Regions from separate parts of the Homo sapiens genome. Here all the other regions are linked to region 3. The links are contacts of gene promoters, found by promoter capture Hi-C in blood cells and fetal thymus (Javierre and others, 2016). All regions are on one chromosome and are shown on one strand. The core of a region is centred on a gene start or on the middle of the fragment in contact, and the rest is flanking DNA. Distances in the headings are between cores, read along the strand shown. Region 1 overlaps RAB5A (RAB5A, member RAS oncogene family). Region 2 holds the start of KAT2B (lysine acetyltransferase 2B). Region 3 holds the start of NKIRAS1 (NFKB inhibitor interacting Ras like 1).

Region 1 (2,987 bases), core at 196-2,695, 4.0 Mb after region 3:
GCAGTGGTACAGATGACTGAAAACTATGGGTACTCCCTAAGTAGAGAAAAAGCAGAATACTCTTGATTGGACAGAGGGATCATACTTTCCTAAAGATGTCTGGCAGGTGGCTAACAGGAAGGCATTCTCCTATAAAGAGATACAGATAACATGTAATGTGAGCAGTACATAATACATGTAATTCTCAAACTAGGTTAGTTGCATGAACAATTTTTTTTTTAAGACGGAGTCTCGCTGAGACACCCAGGCTGGAGTGCAATGGCATGATCTCGGCTCATTGCAACAACCTCCTCCGCCTCCTGGGTTCAAGCGAATCTCCTGCCTCAGCCTCCCAAGTAGCTGGGACTACAGGCGCACGCCACCATGCCTGGCTAATTTTTGTATTTTTAGCAGAGACAGGGTTTCATCACATTGGCAAGCTGGTCTCGAACTCCTGACCTCGTGATCCGCCCGCCTCAGCCTCCCAAAGTGTTGGGATTACAGGTATGAGCTACCGCGCCCAGTCAACAATGTTTTTAAAAATCTGACAAACACCACACCTCAAAAAAACCCCCCAATTATTCCATGTATGGGTGAATCAATGTTAGTACCAATGTAAAATCAACTACTCAAACGTAACATGCCATTAGAATCATCTGGAAAACTTATTAAAACCTAGATTGTTGGTCCCACCCAAATGTTTTGATTCAACACGGGATTCTACATTTTAACAAGTTCCTAGTTAATGCAGCTACTTCTGGAAGTGGGAACGCTCTTTGAGGACCACTGTTCTAAGCTAATGTACAAAAATCACAGAACCAGCAAGAGGAATGTTATTTTCATGTACAGTTCCATCATCTAAACTTTAGAGTTTATAACACATTTTTTGATTAGTGCATACAAAATTGTAACTGTGGTATGAAGCACTTTTCTCAGAAGAGAAAAAAAGGATTGTCTGCTTGCTATTTCACTGCATATTCTAACCACTGAGGATTAATTTGTTTATAAATATCACATAAATGTCTTCTTAAAAATAAGTATTTTTTGAGAGTATTTACTGAAGAGCTACCAAGCCTAGAGATGCAGTACCAAGTAAAGAAGGAAGACAACTCTCTGAGCCTACTGCTCCCTGCTAATCTCTGGGCTAACTTTAGACCAACAATAGAAACATAAATGTCATGCAAACTTTAAACCCATACAAACAAGCTAGAATTCTCTAAATTGCTAAATCTACGGCACGCAATTTCATCAGAAGTGCTATAGGGGTAGGATGCATGAAGTATGGTGAGGCAACAGGGATTCTTTGTTTTGTTTTGTTTTTGAGACAGGGTTCTCACTGTCACCCAGGCTGGAGTGTGGTGGTGCAGTCTCGGCTCACTGTAACCTCCGCCTCTTCAGTTCAAGCAATTCTCCCATTTCAGCCTTCTCAGTAGCTGGGACTACAGGTGTGTGCCACCATGCCCGGTTAATTTTCGTATTTTTTGTAAAGACGGGGTTTTGCTATGTTGGCCAGGCTGGTCTCAAACTCCTGGACTCAAGCGATCTGCCCACCTCAGCTTCCCAAAGTGCTGGGATTACAGATGCAAGCCACCGCACACAGCGCAACAGGAATTCGTAAATCAAGTTATTGTATTTAGGAAGAACCACACAAATTACAGAAGAAATCTTGATATTCTTAATGAATCCAGAATCCACAAATCAAGAGTGTAACATATGATATCCACCTTCGAACACAATCAAATAGAGATTAAAATTTTGAGTGCTTCAGAACAATAACTCATGTTAGGAGATATAAACAGTAAAGTGAAAAATTAAACAGTTGAGGCCAGGCGTGGAGGTTCACGCCTATAATTCCAGCACTTTGGGAGGCCGAGGCAGGTGGATCACTTGAGGTCAGGAGTCTGAGACCAGCCTGGCCAAGATGGCAAAACCCTGTCTCTACTAAAAATACAAAAGTTCACTGGGATTGGTGGTGTGGGCCTGTAATCCCAGCTACTCAGGAGGCTGAGGCAGGAGAACTGCCTGAACCTGGGAAGTAGAGGTTGCAGTCAACCTAGATCACACCACTGCACTCCAACCTGGGCCACGTAGTGAAATTCCGTCTCAAAAAAAATAAACCAACAGTTGAAATGCAAAAGAGTTGGTTGGCTTCATTTTTCAGGTAACTTCTACCACATGACAGTCAAAACAAAAATACGTATTACCTACAAGTTATGGCCCTTTCAGGTTGATCATGAAATAGCTCAAACCTTAAAATTCTTAAATGCTTTACATCTACTCTAGTTCCTAAAGGTGAAGAGCTATGAGTACAGAGCATAAAAGAATAGTGTCCACAGCTATAACCATAATGGTACTGTCATACCTCCTGAATAGTATTCACATGGGGTCAGCACAGTGAAAAAGTATCCAATAAAGATTAACAGAAAGTTGGGCCAGGGGCAGTGGCTCATGCCTGTAATCCCAGCACTTGGAGAGCCCGAGGTAGGCAGATCACTTGAGGCCAGGAGTTCAAGACCAACCCGACCGACATGGTGAAACCCCATCTCTACTAAAAATACAAAAATTGGCCAGGAGTGGTGGCTTGCGCCTGTAGTCCCAGCTACTTGGGGGGCTGAGGCATGAGAATTGCTTGATCCTGGGAAGCGGAGGTTGCAGTGAGCCAGGGCTACACCACTGCACTCCAGCCTGGGCGACAGAGACCTTGTCTCCAAAAAAAAAAAAAAAAAGGATTAACAGAAATTTGGATGCAAATTCCTTTTTGTTTTTAAACAGGAAGCTCTACACATAGAAATGAAAATCTTTATGAAAAATTCATTAATGAAATCTAGACAATCTAACTGGTGTTACATGGAGATTATATAGAGATACACACATATCAGAGATATATTTATGATACACAGGATATGGGGTTACATTTTTCTTTTAAACATCCTTCTTGAGCTATCATTAGGAAAAAATAAACTTAGAAGTGCATTATCCAAAACAAGATAAAAATTCTAATCTTAAGC
Region 2 (2,890 bases), core at 348-2,847, 3.9 Mb after region 3:
AGATCCTACATTCACTCAACAAATATTTATTGAACCAGTGTAGGATACAGAGGTGCTTAACATAAACCTGAGCATATGGTGTGGAAAAAGAGCAAGCATAGACATTCCATTGTGACTGAGAAGCTCCTGCAAGTACCAAGAAGAGTATAACCTAGATGTTCTAGTAGAATAAATTATAGTTATGTCAAAATTCAGAAGTGGTCACTGCAGCTTGGTTGTGACAATCGGGAATCTGGAATCTGGGAACTTGACCCTCTTTACAGCAGGCAGGAAGAATACAGGGAGGTGTGAGTGTGTGTGAGTGTGTCTCTTCCCTGCCTCAGCCACAGGCCGCAGGAGCTGACAAGGCCAAGTCCCCGCCCCCCTCAGCTGTCACCCTGTCAAAACAAAGCCGCTGCTGACAGCGCAGGGCCAGCCTGCCCCGCGGCCTCGGGCAATCCTCCCACCTCGGGAACACAGCCTCCACATCTGGATCTGCAGCTGGAGGTGACAGGGTGCCTAAACTGGCATGGAGAGTGGGTAGCAAGAAATGGGTGTCCTCAAACTGAGCAGTAGCGCCCGCCGCGCTGGGCTGTCACTTTGCCAAATCCTGTTTACACCTCGAGCAGCTGGGACAGCGTTTTAACTAAACAAGTAATAATACAATAATGACAGGGCTGTCACCGCGCGCGGCAGTGCCTCCGCCCCCAGCCGAGGGCGCCAGGCACCACAAGACCCTCGCCTCGGACTCTGCCCACCTTCCCACCCCGCGCTTTCCTCCCCTTCGCTTTCCCAAAGCGCCAGGAGTCCGGGAGTCTTCTCCACCCCCACTCCTTGCACCCAGTTCCTCCCAGTGGGACACAGGAAGGGATCGATTGCAGAAGGGACCACTCAGTCCCCCAAAAGATTTTTCCTTGCCCCTGGGTCACCCGCCACATGGAGAGCACCGCTCCACTCCCGGGAAAGTGACTCCAGCGAGCTCCTACAGAGCAACAAAACCCCAAGGTAGCCCGGGAGCTCGGATGCCGAAGCTACTCCTTTCAAGCGGAAGGAATGAAGGGCTCTCCGTCTTAGTGATCCCCCTTCTTCAAACCCAGCAGGACTCTTATCCAAGAAGAAGCTAATTGGGCGCGGGCGACAAGAGCACTTCCGCGGTGCAGCGGCCCCAGGCGGGAGGCGAGAGGCAGGAGGCGGGAGGCGGAGGTGGAAGCGGGAGGGGGAGGGGGGTCCCGCGGGCTGGGCCCCTAGCACCCATCCGCGGTCCGAGAGCGGCGAGCGCGTACCTTGCAGGCGGAGTACACTCCGAGTTTCTCCAGTTTCTTGGCCCGCGGAGCGGAGCGTAGTTGCGCTTTCTTCACGGCGATTCGGGCCGAGCCACCGCCTCCCGGTCCTTCGGCCGTGCCCGCTGCAGCCACTGCCGTCGCCGGACCGCAGGCGCCCGAGCCCCCGGCGGCAGCGGCGCAGGGGGAGCCCTGCGGGGGCGCGGGCGGAAGCGCCGCAGGCTGCGGGGGCAGCGCCCCGGGCCCGGCCCCTGCCCCGGCTCCTGCCCCGCAGCCGCCCGGCCCGGCCCCGCCAGCCTCGGACATGCCGCCCCGGAGCACGGCAGGAGGCGCCGAGTGTCAGGCGCCGCCGCCGCCGCCAGGGTCTCCCTCTCGGGCTCTGGTAGTCGGGAGAGCGAGACCCTCCCCCCACGCCCTCCCGCCCCCTTCGCCCACCCCCCTCCCCGCCCCCGCCCTCCCCCTAGCGCGCCGCTCGCCCGGCTCGCTCTGGCCGGGCCCCGCGCGCTGATGGTGGTGGCGGCGGCGGCAGCGGCGGCAGCTGCTCCCCCAGGAGGGAGGGGACTAGCGGCTCCGCTGCCGCTGCCGCCGCCGCCACAGCACACGCCCTCCCTTGGTTCTCCTGCCCGGGACTCTGCTCCGCGCCCTGGCTGCGGACATGTTCCTCGGGACTGCGGACTAGGTGTGCGTGCCGGCGGCTGCCAGCCTCACGGTGTCTGCCAGCGCTGGGAGGCCCCCCACGGCCTCTTTTCCGCTGCCCGCGGGGTTTGCACCCCCCACCCCAGTGCTTCGACACCTACCGCTCGCCCGCCAGGGGGCGAGGCCAATCCCTGGGTGTGGGTGAGGGTGGGGACGAGGGTGGGGGTAGGGGCCTGGAGCCCAGGCACCTGCTGGCCACCTCCCCCCTCCGCGGCCCCCCATCCGACCCCCGCACGCCTGCACCAGTGGGAGGGGGCAGCCTCTCAATCATTTGTCCTTTCACTCTCTTCCACCCTGTCTCTGACAGAGAGACAACTTCCTCCACCCTAGCGGGAGCCAGAGGAAAAAAAATATATTTTTGAAAAGTACCCGTCCATGCTAATCTTTTTCTTTGTTGCTAATTCACCAAAATAAAGACGTGATGTTCTCCCTTTCTCTTTTTAAATACTTTCTGTCAAACTATTTTTTAATATAATTAACACTTTCTTCCCATAGCAATTTCTGGGTCAAATCTGCCGGAGGAGGGGAAAAAAACTTACTATTCTCTGTAATTTTTGTTTGAAAGTGCTGGTTGCTAAAAGAAAGATTGTCTAAAAAGCATTGTCAAAAACTATGCAGTGGAAAAAGTTTGAATACAAAAAGTTTGTTAACAGGATTCGTTTCTGGGTGGTGGTTCTATAACGTTACGTAGTTTTCAAAATTGTGCCACCGCGTGCGTATTAACCAGGAAAAAGATATAAGCATAATTCAAAAGAATAAATATCGATTTTGGCCTCAAACTTTAAAAAGAAAAAAAAAACCCTCAACTCAGTGTTTCCAACTCTTGTTGAAAACTGTTGTTTTCACTGTTGATGACTGTGGAGCATACAAGTCAGTGCTGCGTTTGAAAGTGGTGTACCGTTGATCGCCTTCTTAAGCAGGTTTTAAAAGCCCAG
Region 3 (3,136 bases), core at 95-2,594:
AATGCTATCTAATAGAAAAAAATAAAACACATCCCAGTCTTTTTCAATGCACCTTAGGCTACTCACACAGGGAGGCACACTGTTTATTTTGCTTTAGTCTGAACTCATTCAGATTTGTAACCTTTGACACACTTGCCACTTTAGACAACAGTGCATACAGTAACTGACCAGTGTTGCTAGCTTTTTTCTGCCAAAGCCCTATGCGAAGAAAGACACTGAGGCAGCAGTGTCTTCCTAACAGCTGGTTTCCAACTTTTCTCGAATATAATTTTATCCAAGCATCCACGCAGTCGATCACGTACCTTGCTTGGCCTTGTAGCCCAGTCGGCGCGCTTTATCAGGCCGGGTGGGGCGGGGAGCCCTGTGGAGAGCAGAGAGCTGGCGGTACTGCCAGCAGCGGACCCTCAGAAGAAAGCGCATGACATCAGACTGCTTCTTTCTCCATAGCTCCTGGATGTACTTGTATGCACCCATCTTGGCTTACCTGTGAAATCAAACTGTGTATTAAATATCATCCGCTTTAAGTACAATAAGACGACTGTATCCGTCCATCTTAGTTCCCCAACAAAAACAAGGAAACCGCCGGGAATGAAAATGGCTCTGCACCAACTGCCGGGGACAGCTAGCCCAACCCCCACCACTGCGCCCACGGAGCCGCGTTCAGTCACTTCCGCAACCCCAGCACAGAGCGGTGCTCGGCACGTTTTGGTGGGGCGAATTAACAGAACCAGAACTGAGCACCAAGGGGGCGGGTGGCTGCGGCAGGCGGCGTCCCCAAGGAGGACCTGAAAGGAGATGCCGCTGACATCACAGGACAAGGTACTGCTGCGGCCACCGAGGATTAACTCTCGAGGAAAATGCATCTACCCCACCCAACCAGCAGCCTCACTTTAGGCTGCCTTGTCCCGGGCGCCCCATTCGTCAGCCCCACGCCTCCTCCAGGATCCGGGCCCAGCTCGAATTCGCGCCGCCATCACATCTTCGCTCAACCCGCCCCGGGGGCCGCCTCTCCACCCCTTTGCTGTCCCGCATCCTGACCAAACTCTGGCCGCACAGGAGGGAGACCTATCTCCGAGGACGCAGGGTCCCCGGACCTGGATGGCTGAAGAGGAAGACGATCAAAGGCGGATGGAAGAGCAAAGATCCTCAACGCAGCCTACCTGATGGCTGCCGCCAGACGGAAAGGAAAGAGCTGTACTCCCACAATGCCTTTTGGGCTCCTCCCCCACCTCAGCCACCCTCTTTCCGGTGGAAAGCTGCGGCCTCCCAGAGCGTCATGGGACATGTAGTTCCGGCATCGCGCCTGGTGGCGGAGTTCTGCCGAGTGGGGCGCCGCGGCCGCTATTGTCCCGCCCCCTGCTCCGCAAGATTCGAGCCTGAGCGGCCTGGGCGTCTCGAGAGGTGAGAGAGTTGGCGGCGAGGTCTCGGCGGCTAAGCGAGCGTCGGCGACTGTCTCTCCGCGAGAGGAGGCAAGTTGGGGTCCAGGCTCCAAAGCCGGTGGCCGCGTACCGCGGTGGAGCCGCTGTCTTTGAGGTCTGAGGAGAGAACAGGTTTGTTTCACGCACCGCGGGCTCTCCCCCTGCGGAGTCTCTGCGTCTCCGCGTCTCCGCGCTGCGCTGTCCCTCTCTGGCCACCGCACGACGGGCGCAGAAATCTGGGCCCCAGAGCTGCGCTGAGAGATCCCCCGACGCTTCCCCAGCCTCCCAGGGAGGCCTTCGCGGAGTCGGGGCGTCGCGGGTCGGGGCGCTCGCTGTGTCCCTTCAGCTCCAGACTGCGTGAAGCTCCTCCAGCAGGCCCCAGCGCCCAGGGATTTTGTCCTAAAAAAGGGTCATGGAGTGGGTGGATTGCGGGCGGCCCGGCGCTTTTTCTGCATACGGATTTCGTCCCAAATTTGCTAACATGAGAACCACAGTTTTTCAGAAGAGCAGAATGTTTATTTGCCAAGACCTGTTTGGCAGGTGTGAATGTTTTAGAGAAGAAATGCCGAGAAAATGCTGGCATTTTGCGTTGCGGGTTTTTTTTTAAATTGAGAAATAGGTTACTGGCTTACTTTGTTTCTCCAGAATATTTTCACTTGGCTTTAATTTAAGTCATGTGGCTTTAATTTCCTTCCAGATTATGCGTTCAGATGTGGCAAAGGCTTAAGAGAATCATTATCTCTTAATCGTAGCGGTTTTGATTATCTTTTTTCCCACATCATATTTTTCTTTCTTTCTTTTTAAATCACAGCTTTACGTTTTTAAGAGTCTCTATCTGGTTCATTGATTGATTCAACAAATATTTATTAAGTGTCTAATATGTGCCAGGCATAGTTGCTGGGGATGCAGCAGGAAACAACGCAGAATTTTTGGCCTTCTTGGAAATGGGCAGTAAGCAGAAGTAAGCTGTGTTTTGGGTTTGGTGGTAAATGCTAAGGAAAAAAGATAAGGGGAGGGAAGTGATGAGGGAGTGTTAGCGGCTGAGGGTTGCAATTTGGAATGGAGTGTCCAGGTTAAGTCTTTGAGAGAAGGTAACATTTAAGAAAGGACTTCAAGGATAGGAGTCTGGGAGTAAGAGTAGGGGTCTGATTCAGGCAGAGGGAGAAGAGCCATGACTGGAGCATGCAAGATTAATAGAGGAACAGCAGGGAAGCAGTGTGGCTGAAATTCACAGTAGGGGAAAGTGGGAAATGACGTCGGAGAGGTGAAGGTTCTCACATGGACTTTGGATTTCATTGGCAGATTTTGAACAGAAGGATGACTTCATATGGCGTACATTTTAAAAAGATAACTCGGATTGCTCCTTTTGAGGCTAAAAGGAGAGAAAAAATGGAAGCAGAGAGACTGCTTAGGAAATTGTGTTAGTCTTCCATTGCTCCTGTAACAAATTTCAGCAACTTTGTTGGTTAATAATACAAATTTACCGTCTTTTAGTTTGTACATCAGACTAGGTCTGTAAATCTGTAAATATCACCAAGCTAAAACCAAAGTCAGTAGGGCTGTGTTCCTTCTGGAGGTACTAGGGGAGAGTACATTTATTTCCTTGGCTTTTCCACCTTATGAAGCCTGCCTGAATTCCTTGGCTCCTGACTGCTTCCTTCATCTTCACAGCCAGCAAAGGAGCATCTTCCAATTACACCTTCTGTCCTCTCCAGCAC

The links. Contacts are between HindIII fragments. The CHiCAGO score rates a contact against its expected background, and 5 or more counts as called.
Region 1: a fragment that was not itself captured here is called in contact with the fragment with the promoter of NKIRAS1 in region 3 in 1 of 17 cell types (activated CD4 T cells); the score reaches 5.5 in activated CD4 T cells.
Region 2: the fragment with the promoter of KAT2B here is called in contact with the fragment with the promoter of NKIRAS1 in region 3 in 2 of 17 cell types (naive CD8 T cells and total CD4 T cells); the score reaches 7.5 in naive CD8 T cells.

What each region holds. Positions count from the first base shown.
Region 1 is chr3:19,953,130-19,956,116 of GRCh38, reverse strand. The region is part of intron 2 of RAB5A (RAB5A, member RAS oncogene family); the gene reads right to left. Among named protein-coding and RNA genes, the nearest start is that of RAB5A, 7.5 kb to the right of the region's middle. The HindIII fragment of the contact is 6,610 bases long and covers 1-2,987 here.
Region 2 is chr3:20,039,153-20,042,042 of GRCh38, reverse strand. KAT2B (lysine acetyltransferase 2B) reads right to left here and starts at 1,597. Exons shown (of 18, transcript NM_003884.5): 1 at 1,263-1,597. The coding sequence starts at 1,565. RefSeq lists enhancers at 96-285, 1,002-1,972 and silencers at 1,136-1,195, 1,396-1,525, 1,696-2,335. The HindIII fragment of the contact is 5,734 bases long and covers 1-2,890 here.
Region 3 is chr3:23,915,198-23,918,333 of GRCh38, reverse strand. NKIRAS1 (NFKB inhibitor interacting Ras like 1) reads left to right here and starts at 1,344. Exons shown (of 5, transcript NM_020345.4): 1 at 1,344-1,550. It overlaps RPL15 (ribosomal protein L15), which reads right to left and starts at 1,202. Exons shown (of 4, transcript NM_002948.5): 1 at 1,161-1,202; 2 at 303-484. The coding sequence starts at 474. RefSeq lists enhancers at 461-560, 490-1,689, 941-1,740. The HindIII fragment of the contact is 19,179 bases long and covers 1-3,136 here.